Linked DNA regions of Homo sapiens: region 1 is linked to region 2. The links are contacts of gene promoters, found by promoter capture Hi-C in blood cells and fetal thymus (Javierre and others, 2016). All regions are on one chromosome and are shown on one strand. Each heading gives the region's core, a stretch centred on a gene start or on the middle of the fragment in contact. The rest is flanking DNA. Distances are from core to core; before and after follow the strand shown. Region 1 overlaps MMRN2 (multimerin 2). Region 2 holds the start of LDB3 (LIM domain binding 3).

Region 1 (4,857 bases), core at 1,826-4,325, 270 kb before region 2:
AACGACGTCAAGAATGTCGGGCGGTGCTGCGAGGCCGAGGCCGGGGCCGGGGCCGCCTCCCTCAACGCCTCCCTTCACGGCCTCCACAACGCACTCTTCGCCACTCAGCGCAGCTTGGAGCAGCACCAGCGGCTCTTCCACAGCCTCTTTGGGAACTTCCAAGGGCTCATGGAAGCCAACGTCAGCCTGGACCTGGGGAAGCTGCAGACCATGCTGAGCAGGAAAGGGAAGAAGCAGCAGAAAGACCTGGAAGCTCCCCGGAAGAGGGACAAGAAGGAAGCGGAGCCTTTGGTGGACATACGGGTCACAGGGCCTGTGCCAGGTGCCTTGGGCGCGGCGCTCTGGGAGGCAGGTGAGTTCCTGGGCTGGGGAGACTGGACGAGCCTAGGAGGCCAGGGCCGGCTGCCGGCAGCTCTTCTGCCTCCAAGAGGGCCAGGAAGAAAGAGAACAGGATGGCCATCCGTCACCCCTACTAGGTCCACCTTCCCCTTGGCCCACCTGCTTCTCAGGGGTGTGGGTCTCTCAAGCTACCTGGCTTATGGGGAGACAGAAGTCACAAGAACCACCTGCTAGTGCCAGAGCCCGTGAGCGGCATAGCCTGGAGGCCACAGGCACAATAGTGCCGCCTACTGCTCCTGCTACAGAGAGGGCATCGCCTCCTGCCCTGCCAGGGCAGCCTTCAAGTCCCCCCATCTCATCTCTTCACCTCACCCCCTTCATTCCCATGTGCGTTTAAGCCACTGTATCTAGGAAGAATGTGGATAGGGACTGTGGCCACTTGCAGCCCCACTTAGTTCTGTTTCATTTTCCATGATTTTAGTTTTTTTTTTGTTTTTTTTTTCTTTTTCTTTTCTTTTTTTTTTTTTTTTTAAGATGGGTCTCACTTTGTCGTCCAGGCTTGAGTACAGTGGTGGGATCATGGCTCACTGCAGCCTAGACCTCTCCAGGCTCAGCTGATCCTCCCACTTCAGCCTCCAGAGTAGCTAGGACTTACAGGCATGTGTCACCATGCCTAGCTAATTTTTGTACTTTTTGTAGAGACAGGGTCTTGCTATGGTGCCCAGGCTGGTCTCAAATTCCTGGGATCAAGTAATCTGCCCACCTCAGCCTCCTAAAGTGTTAGGATTACAGGTGTGAGCCATGTGCCCAGCCTTGATTTCAGTTTCTTGCATCAACCACGATCAGAAAATAGGTGAGTACAGTACAATAAGATTTTGAGAGAGGGAGACACCACATTCATATAACTTTTATTACAGTATACTGTTATAATTGCTTTATATTTTATTATTATTGTCAATCTCTTACTGTGCCTAATTTACAAGTTAAACTTTGGCATAGGTATGTACATAGAGGAAAATAAATAGTATATATAGGGTTTGGTACTGTCTGAGATTTCAGGCACCTGCTAAGGTCTTGGAACACACCTCAGTGGACTGTACAGGGAAAGCCGTGGGCCCTGAAAGGAGCTCATTCCCTCTGCAAATACAGTTAACCTGTCTCATCGCTCTGTGCTAGTCCCCTTCCTGGGCTTTACCACAATGGCCCATCCCAACAGGTCAATGACACACTCATCAGCACTTCCATCTTACCTGAAACTGAGGCGCAAACACAAGTTTCCTGCTTGCACAGCTAGTGAGCAGCAGAGGAGCGCTGTCTTTAGGGTGCCGGTTCTTCACCTCCAGAAGGCCCTCCATGGCTGGTCCCTGCAGGGCCCTGGGCCTGGGAGCTGGCTTTGAGGCTGAAGGCATGTGCAACCAAGCTTCCCATCCCCTCCCTGAGTGTGGTCCCGGGAGGGGGACAACTAGGCTCTGTGTCTCAAGTGACTCTCTCTGCCAGAGGCTGGCCTTGGAGCTGTGGCCTCTCCCCACCCAGACACAGGGCTAAGTACAAGGCCACCATCTTGGCCATGTGCAGCCTGGCGTGTGGCAAGTCCAAGGCCTTGTTGAAGGTCCCGTCCCAGGCAGCCCCTGCCCCAGCTGACCCTCCCTATGGCCCAAGAGGCAATGTGGAGCAGTGGGAAGCACCCAGGCTCTGGCATCACTTGTCTGTTTCTTCCTCAGTAAAATGGCAGAATCCCTACCCATGTCAAAGTTTTGTTATGAAGACTGCTGCGTTTACCAAATACCTAGCACGAGGCTTACCTCATGTAGGAACGCAGTCAACGTTTTCCCATTTCCCCAGCATTTTCAGGGTTCAGGTTGTGTCCACCGACACTGACACTTCTCTCTTGTTTCCTCTCGTGCGTGGTGCAAGGCTTCAATATGCTGATGACTTTCAGAATTTGCCCCACGGTTTGGAAATGTGTTTACCACGACGATATTTATTTCAAAAAAATGTTGTTCTTAAAAACAAATTTCCAGGCCGGGCGCAGTGGCTCATGCCTATAATCCCAGCAGTTTGGGAGGCCGAGGCGGGTGGATCACTTGAGGTCAGGAGTTCAAGACCAGCCTGGCCAACATGGTGAAACCCCATCTCTACTAAAAATACAAAATTAGCCGGGTGTGGTGGCGGGCGCCTAATCCCAGCTACTCGGGAGGCTGAGACAGGAGAATCACTTGAACCCGGGAGGCAGAGGCTGCAGTGAGCCGAGATTGCGCCACTGCACTCCAGCCTGGGCAAGAAGAGCGAAACTGTCAAAAAAAAAAAAAAAATTAGCCCGGTGTGGTGGCAGGCACCTGTAATCCCAACTACCTGGAAGGCTGAGGCAGGAGAATCGCTTGAACCTGGGAGGCAGAGGTTGCTGTGAGCCAAGATAGCTCCATTGCACTCCAGCCTGGGCGGCAGAGTAGGACTCTGTCTCAAACACACACACACACACACACACACACAAACACACACACACACACACACACACACACACACCCCAAATTTCCCTTTATTTGTTTGTAGGAAGGCTGTAGGGCTTGAATGTGTGCCCTGCAGGGAAGCACACTCTGAGTTTGCACAGCCCTTCCCGCATCTTAGGGCCTGTCAGGCGCAAGGCTGGGTTGGGGTGGGGGTCTCTCTCTGCGGCGGAACTCCCTGCGCAGGCGCCCGGACGGAACGGCCGGAACGAGGGCCTAGCACCGGTAGAGGGCGCTGCGGGCCGGCCTTCCTTCGGCTAGGCAAGAGAACCACCTGCAGGGTGTTAGGGGAATTGCAGAGGCAGCCGCCGGCCTCTGACTTGGGCACAATCTTTTTTTTTTTTTTTTTTTTTTTTTTTTTTTTGAGACGGAGTCTCGCCCTTTCGCTCAGGGTGGAGTGCAATGGCACGATCTCGGCTCACTGCAACCTCCGCCTTCCGGGTTCAAACGATTCTCCTGCCTCAGCCTCCCGAGTAGCTAGGATTACAGGCGCCTGCCACCATGCCCAGCTAATTTTTGTAGTTTTAGTAGAGACGGGATTTCACCATGTTGGCCAGGCTGGTCTCTATCTCCTGACCTCGTGATCCGCCCACCTCGGCCTTCCAAAGTGCTGGGATTACAGGCGTGAGCCATTGCGCCCGGCATTTTTTTTTTTTTTTTTTTTTGACGGAGTTTCACTCTCGTTGCCCAGGCTGGAGTGCAACGGCGTGATCTCGGCTCACGGCAACCTCCGCCTCCCGGGTGCAAGCGATTCTCATGCCTCAGCCTCCCAAGTAGCTGGGATTACAGGTATGCCCCACCACGCCTGGCTAATTTTGTATTTTTAGTAGAGATGGGATTTCTCCATGTTGGTCACGCTGGTCTCGAATTCCCGACTTCAGGTGATCCGCCCGCCTTGGCCTCCCAAAGTGCTGGGATTACAGGCGTGAGCCACTGCGCCCGGCTGATTTGACACAATCTGAACACAAATGAGAAAGCTATTCTCAGCTGTCTAATTCTCAGAAAATCTTCCAGAACTAGAGAAAAGCAACATTTTTTTATTCACAAAGGCTTGCTGGATTGGGAGTCAAAGAGCTGAGGCTTGAGTTCCGGGACCCAAGTCAGTAATTGCTCAGCAAACTGCTCCTCTGAAGGCTTTGGTTTTATCACCTAAGAAATGGGGACCTTGTTTTAAACCCCTACAGAGGGAGCAAGTTGAGGAACCCCATGGTGGACATGACCTCGTTGGTGCCAAGGCCAGTGTCACAGCCAGGACCCAAGTAGGACTTACCTTTCCTGTGCCATCTCATGACCCTGTCCCCAGCTGCCCAACCATGCTGTCCAGGCAGCAGGACTGGCTTCTTCCTGGCTGTTTGTACACCCTCCACACATGGCAGCTTCCTCTGCTTCTGTGCCCGTGCATGGGCCTGGCACCAGTGTTCTGTCAGTGTTCCTGTCCTAAGGCTGGCCAAAGTGGTCCCTGCAGAGAACCAGAAGTCTAGAGATTCAAGGTCTGTTCCCAGGAGGCTTGGTAATTTACTAGTTGTGTGGTCTGGAGCAATAAGCTTTTTCTTTCTGGGCCTCAATTTACCCATATGTAAGATGACCAGCTTGGCCAGTAACAGTGGCTCACACCTGTAATCCCAGCACTTTGCGGGGTTGAGGTGGGAGGACCGCTTGAGCTCAGGAGTTTGAGACCAGCCTGGGCAACAGAGCAAGACTCTGTCTCTACAAAAAATAAAAAATTAGCCAGGCATGATGGCGTATGCCTGTAGACCCAGCTACTCAGGTGGCTGAGGTGGGAGGATTGCTTGAGCCCAGGAAGTTGAGGCTGCAGTGAGCCATGATCGCCAATGCACTCCAGTCTGGGCAACAAGAGACCCTTTATCAACTAAAAAAAAGAAGACCAGCTTGAAGGGGCTTCTCTTCCCTGGCTCCACCTGCTCTTTCCTTCTTTCTCCAAGGTTCTGTCTTCAACATCCAGGAGGATCCAGCCTTCATGGCTCTGCAGATACCTTCCCAGTGTTAGCATTAT
Region 2 (4,949 bases), core at 2,341-4,840:
CTCACTCTGCCCCCAGAATGGAGTGCAGTGGTGCGATCTCAGCTCACTGCAACCTCTGCCTCCTGGGTTCAAGCTGTTCTCCTGCCTCAGCCTCTTGAGTAGCTGGGATCACAAGCATGTACCACCACACCTGGCTAATTTTTGTATTTTTAGTGGAGACAGGGTTTCACCATGTTGGCCAGGCTGGTCTCAAACTCCTGACCTCAAGTGGTCTGCCCCCTCGGCCTCCCAAAGTGCTGGGATTACAGGCATGAGGCACCGCGCCCAGCCTGCTATCCCCATTTTAAGGGTGAGAAAAACTGAGGCCGAGCAGGTAAACAGACTTCTGAGGTGACACAGCTGAGAGCAGCAGAGCCTAACAAAGCATACTCCTCTTCCCCAAGGCGGAGGCATGAGAGGCATGAAGAGGTGAGACCCCAGACCACAGCCCCAGCCTCTGGCCAGCTGCCAGGGCAGAGGCCTTTGGAGCTGCTCCCTCTCTGGGCTGCTCCCCCTTCTCCACTTCCTGGAGAACTGGCTGGGGTGGGGTGAAAGGGCAGCTCATGTTGCAGGCCCAGCCACACCTGTCCAGGATAAATAAAGGCATTTCCCCGCCACCCTCCTTTCCCAGTCTCCCTCTTGAACTCCCTTCTCTGTGGGTCTGCAAGCAGAGACCCTATGAAGGGATGCCTTGAGGGGCTGCTGCTGCCCCAAAGTTGCTGCCATGAGCCCCCGGGAGCCACCACCCAGCCTGCAGGTGGCCTGTGTCCTTCCAGGAGGAGCTGCAGCACACACCTGCAGCTGAGAGGGGACAGACCCTCCCCAGTGCCTCTCTATTAGTCCCAGTTAGAGGGGTGAGCAAGCCAGCATGGGAGTTAGGGGTGACAGGATACAGGAGATCCACCCATGGACATCCCTGTCCTGTGAGCAGACTCGAGCCTCAGTTTGCCAGGCTCTGAAGCGAGGTAACGATCCCAGCCTCGCCTGCCTGCCCACCCCACAGGGTCACACACTCTTGCCTCTGGTGCCCTATGGCACAGGCTCAGGTCCTGGCTGGGGTGGGAGTGGGGTTCCTCCAGAGAGCTCTGGCCATGCCTCCCCCGTAGGGGGATGTCCCTGGTGCAGAAGGGCCCTGCGAGCCCCGGCAGTAAATCCTACAGCCCTGGTGGGATGGCAGGGCTGTGTCCACAAGGCCTGCCCTGCCAGCGGCACTGAACCAGGACACAAGCCCAGGCTATCAGCAGCCTACCACCAAAATTTCTCAAGAGGCTCCGAGCCCTGGGGAAGGCTCCAGTACCCAGTCCAGCCTGCTCCGCGGCTTAGGTGATTTGGGGTATGCCCCTAAAGGAAGCCGAGAGGCCATATCATGCCCATCCCCCGGTGCCCTGCCCGAGCTTCGGGTTCTATTTTTAGAAGTCCCCACAGTCATTGGATCCAGCACATCCCTGCATACCCCCTCCCCAGAGTAAGGACATTCCTCCTGCTATCTAGCTTAAGGCTTCTGGGCTGCCATTTAAGCCCCTGGCTGGCCGGGGCCAGGTGGCACATAGACCCTGGGTGAGGTCATTGGCTATCCTGAGTGCCACTGAGCCCAGTGGCCAATTTGCACCCATAGGGATAGGGCAGGGAGCACCAGCAGGAGGCCTCGAGATGGTGGAGCTGGGGGAGATGTGGGCTCAGTCCCAGGCAGGGGAGGCCACAGGGCCCATGAGAGAGCACACAGAGGCTCCACCTTATACAGGAAGGAGTCCTGCAAGCATGGGGGTGGGGAGCTGTGGGAAAGGGCAGTGGGAAATCCACTGGGGCTCACATGCTCACAGGTCACCACCTCATGCAAAGTGTGCAAGGCTGTGGGTGCCCAGGACCCTGTGGTCTCCAGGGCAGTAGATCTGGAGGGGTGGAATCTCCAGGTTAGAACAAGCCACATCTGCAACTGAAGGATGGAGGTCAGGGCCTGTTCCCTGCACCAGAGCCAGGCCAGCACCCCTCCTGTAAGCATGTGGCCTCTATGGCTATTATAAGGCTCTCACGGCATCCCTGGGTGGGGCTTCTACTTCTGGGGTCCCCTCAAGTACCCGTGGAACAAAAAAAAGATTACTCCTCCACTGGGGGCATTGGCTCCTGACCCGCTGCCCAGGTTCCCTGGCCCCTCTGCCAAGCCCCTTCAGGCCTTGCCCACTTCAGTGCTTCCCCTCCAACCCCTTCCTCCAGCCCCCAGGCCCAAGGCAAGTCCTTAAGGCCCCAGAGAAGAAACTGTCCCCTTGTTCCCCTGGTGGGCAGTAGCCCAGATACCCCTGCCTACCTACCACCCTCCAGTGACAGACTGGGGGCCTCCCCCTCTGGCCTTGTGCCCGGAACAGCACGGTCAGGGGCTCAGCCACCAGGCAGGGTTGTCCTTGCCCTGTATGCCTCACAGTTCGCCCTGAGCCTTGGGGCCTTCAGCCCTGGGTCTACCAGTGCCTTGCTGGGGAGTCTCTTTGTTTGACAGAAACTGACGGAGTGCCTACTACGGTCTGGGGGCTGTTCCCCCATCAGTCCCTGCTCCTGGAGTGCTTCCTCAGGAGCATGGCTAACTTTCTGCCTCTCTGGTGTTGCTGTCTCCAGCCAGGCGGTAGAGTTACTCAGACAACCCCTGATGTTCTGTGTCATCTGCATCAGGCCATGCTGCTCCCCATCACAGACACTGCAGGATAGGGGGCCATCTCACCAGGCCCCAGCACTTGTGGGGAACAAGACCTGAGACAGACAAAGCAGCCATGGTGAATGGGGAGAAGCGCCCAGCCCCATGAGCCAGGGTCTTGGTGTCTCAAGTTTGGGATGGAGCAGGTGCCCAGTACTCAGTCCAGCCCAGCCCCACACTCTGACAGCTGGGCAGCCAAGGTCAACCGTCTGTCTGTCCATCTATCCAACTGCCCATCACCTGCCCTCTCCATGCTGGGAATACTCCCTTCCCAAAGCAGCTGCCCATATCTAGGGAAATGCTCAAGGCTTGGGGGCACCCTGAGCCCACTCTAACAGTAAAGGGATCAGGAAGGTGCTGTACTCTCTGTCCAGCTACCTGCCTGCCTGCCTGCCTGCCTGCCTGAAAACTCAGCATTTTCTTCTCTGCTAAAAACACCTACCACCTGCTCATGATGTCTCACATGCATAACAGGCCGGCGCGCTCCAGTGAGCAAACAGCTGTGGCTGAGACCAGAGGACCAGGCCAGTCCCAGGGGATGGGGCATGCTCTGCTTTCTGAGAGGCTCAGAAAGGACAGACAGACAGACGGACACACATGCCCTCCTCCAAGCGTGCCTGCCCCATCGGGTGCCAGGCTGTGGCAGGGTGCACTCACCCGGGAGATAGTGAGGGGCATGTTGAAGTCCTTGCCCCCCTGCAGACGGAAGCCCCAGGGCCCGGGCCCAGTCAGGGTCACACTGTAAGACATGCTGGTGCTGTCAGCGGCCGCCTCTGCAGACAAAGGGTAGAGAGGGTTGAGTGAGAGGGCACTCAGGCACTCCGCCTGCCCGGTCCACACCTCTGCCCCTGCCCCTGACCCCCAGCCTTGCCTGTTCTGTCCCTTGCTGCCCAGCCGGGCTGCGTGGAGCTCTTGAGAGGCTCCTAAGAATAGCTGGGAGCGAATGCCATCGACACTGATATCTGCCTTCGGCTGCGCCCATAAATGGACTGTAACCCTACACTGTGCCTGCCAGCCTGCCGCCTCCCAGCCGGTCCACCATGACTCACACGGCTAATATAGCCCCTGGGGAGGGGTGTCCGGCACCCAGCACCCCCCAGGGGGGAGGAAGGGGAACTGGCCTGGTTGGTGAGAATGCTCTGGTCTCCTTGCTCCTGTGTCCTCTGGAGAGCGTAGACACTCGCTCTTCCTGCCCAGTGGTACCCATCCTCTTGCTCAGAAGACCAGGGGCTGAGCTCCCTTGGGTAGGGGCTTTGCTGCCGTGTGGTCCCTGGCCAGGATTCTGGGGTTGTGCTTTATCCAGTATGGGGCCCTGGAGGTGCCTTGGCTTGAGCTGAGCCTCCAGCTGGTCTGTGACTGGCCCAGGGTTGTCCAGCCATAAAAACGATCATCATAACAGCAGCTCTGGGCATAGCCAACCTCAGTATGGGCCCTTCACTCCCTGGGATCCTGAGAAGCTGCCACCTGGGCCCGCAGGAGACAAAGCTCAGGGAGGTTAAATGACTTCTCCAAGGTCACACAAGGAGTGGACCCAGGTCACACTGGAGCCTGGGCTGATTCCTACAGAATGCATGCCAGATAATGGGCTCCCAGTAGCCACAGAAGCCTCCCAAAGCCCTGGTCCTGGGCAGCTGGCCCTCTGCCTGCACCCCTTGGCATAGGGTCTGAAAGCAGGTCTGAGGCAGGCCCATCCCCTCCAGACCCTCTGGGGGCCCAGCCAGTTATTCCTGGCTCTCCTGTCTTTGTGCTCTGGAAAACTTGACGGCAGCATGGAAAGCTCCAGCTGCCAGTGCCACACGCCAGGCCCCGTGCCCTTTGCGCAGGAATGGCAGGGGGCAGGGAGAAGGGAGGAGACGCCATTTGCTCAGCTGCTAGACACAGGGCCAGGAGGGGCAGGGAGGGGGAAGCACGTGTGGCATGTTCAGCCTGTACCCCAGAGACAGTGTGTTCTGGATGGGGGCCTCAGCACCTTGGGACTTCTGCCAGTGCGGTCTTTGGGCCAACCCCTTCCCCAAGAAAGACCTCAGGCCCCTATGTGGTCTGGAGATAGATCAAGGCCCACCCTGGCTCCTTGGTTGGAGAAACTGAGGCTCAGGGGAGGCAACTGGGTTGGCTGCTTGCTGGCCCTCTTGGAGGGGTCTGGCTTGGACCCTGAGGAGTCAGTAGAGGCCTGGGTGTGAGTCATTTCTCAGCTTCTAGCCTCACTCCTGGGGCCTGGCACATGCAAGGTACAAGGTAGGATCACCCATATTACGGGGTTGTTTTGTCACTTGCCCAAAGTCACAAAACT

The links. Contacts are between HindIII fragments. The CHiCAGO score rates a contact against its expected background, and 5 or more counts as called.
Region 1: a fragment that was not itself captured here is called in contact with the fragment with the promoter of LDB3 in region 2 in 1 of 17 cell types (M1 macrophages); the score reaches 5.1 in M1 macrophages.

The regions. Positions count from the first base shown.
Region 1 is chr10:86,937,812-86,942,668 of GRCh38, reverse strand. It overlaps MMRN2 (multimerin 2), which reads left to right. Exons shown (of 7, transcript NM_024756.3): 6 at 1-352. Among named protein-coding and RNA genes, the nearest start is that of MMRN2, 17 kb to the left of the region's middle. RefSeq lists enhancers at 1,800-2,300, 2,730-2,779, 2,923-3,217. The HindIII fragment of the contact is 2,628 bases long and covers 1,762-4,389 here.
Region 2 is chr10:86,667,152-86,672,100 of GRCh38, reverse strand. It overlaps LDB3 (LIM domain binding 3), which reads right to left and starts at 3,590. Exons shown (of 14, transcript NM_007078.3): 1 at 3,531-3,590; 2 at 3,317-3,432. The coding sequence starts at 3,409. RefSeq lists an enhancer at 3,410-3,459. The HindIII fragment of the contact is 20,890 bases long and covers 1-4,949 here.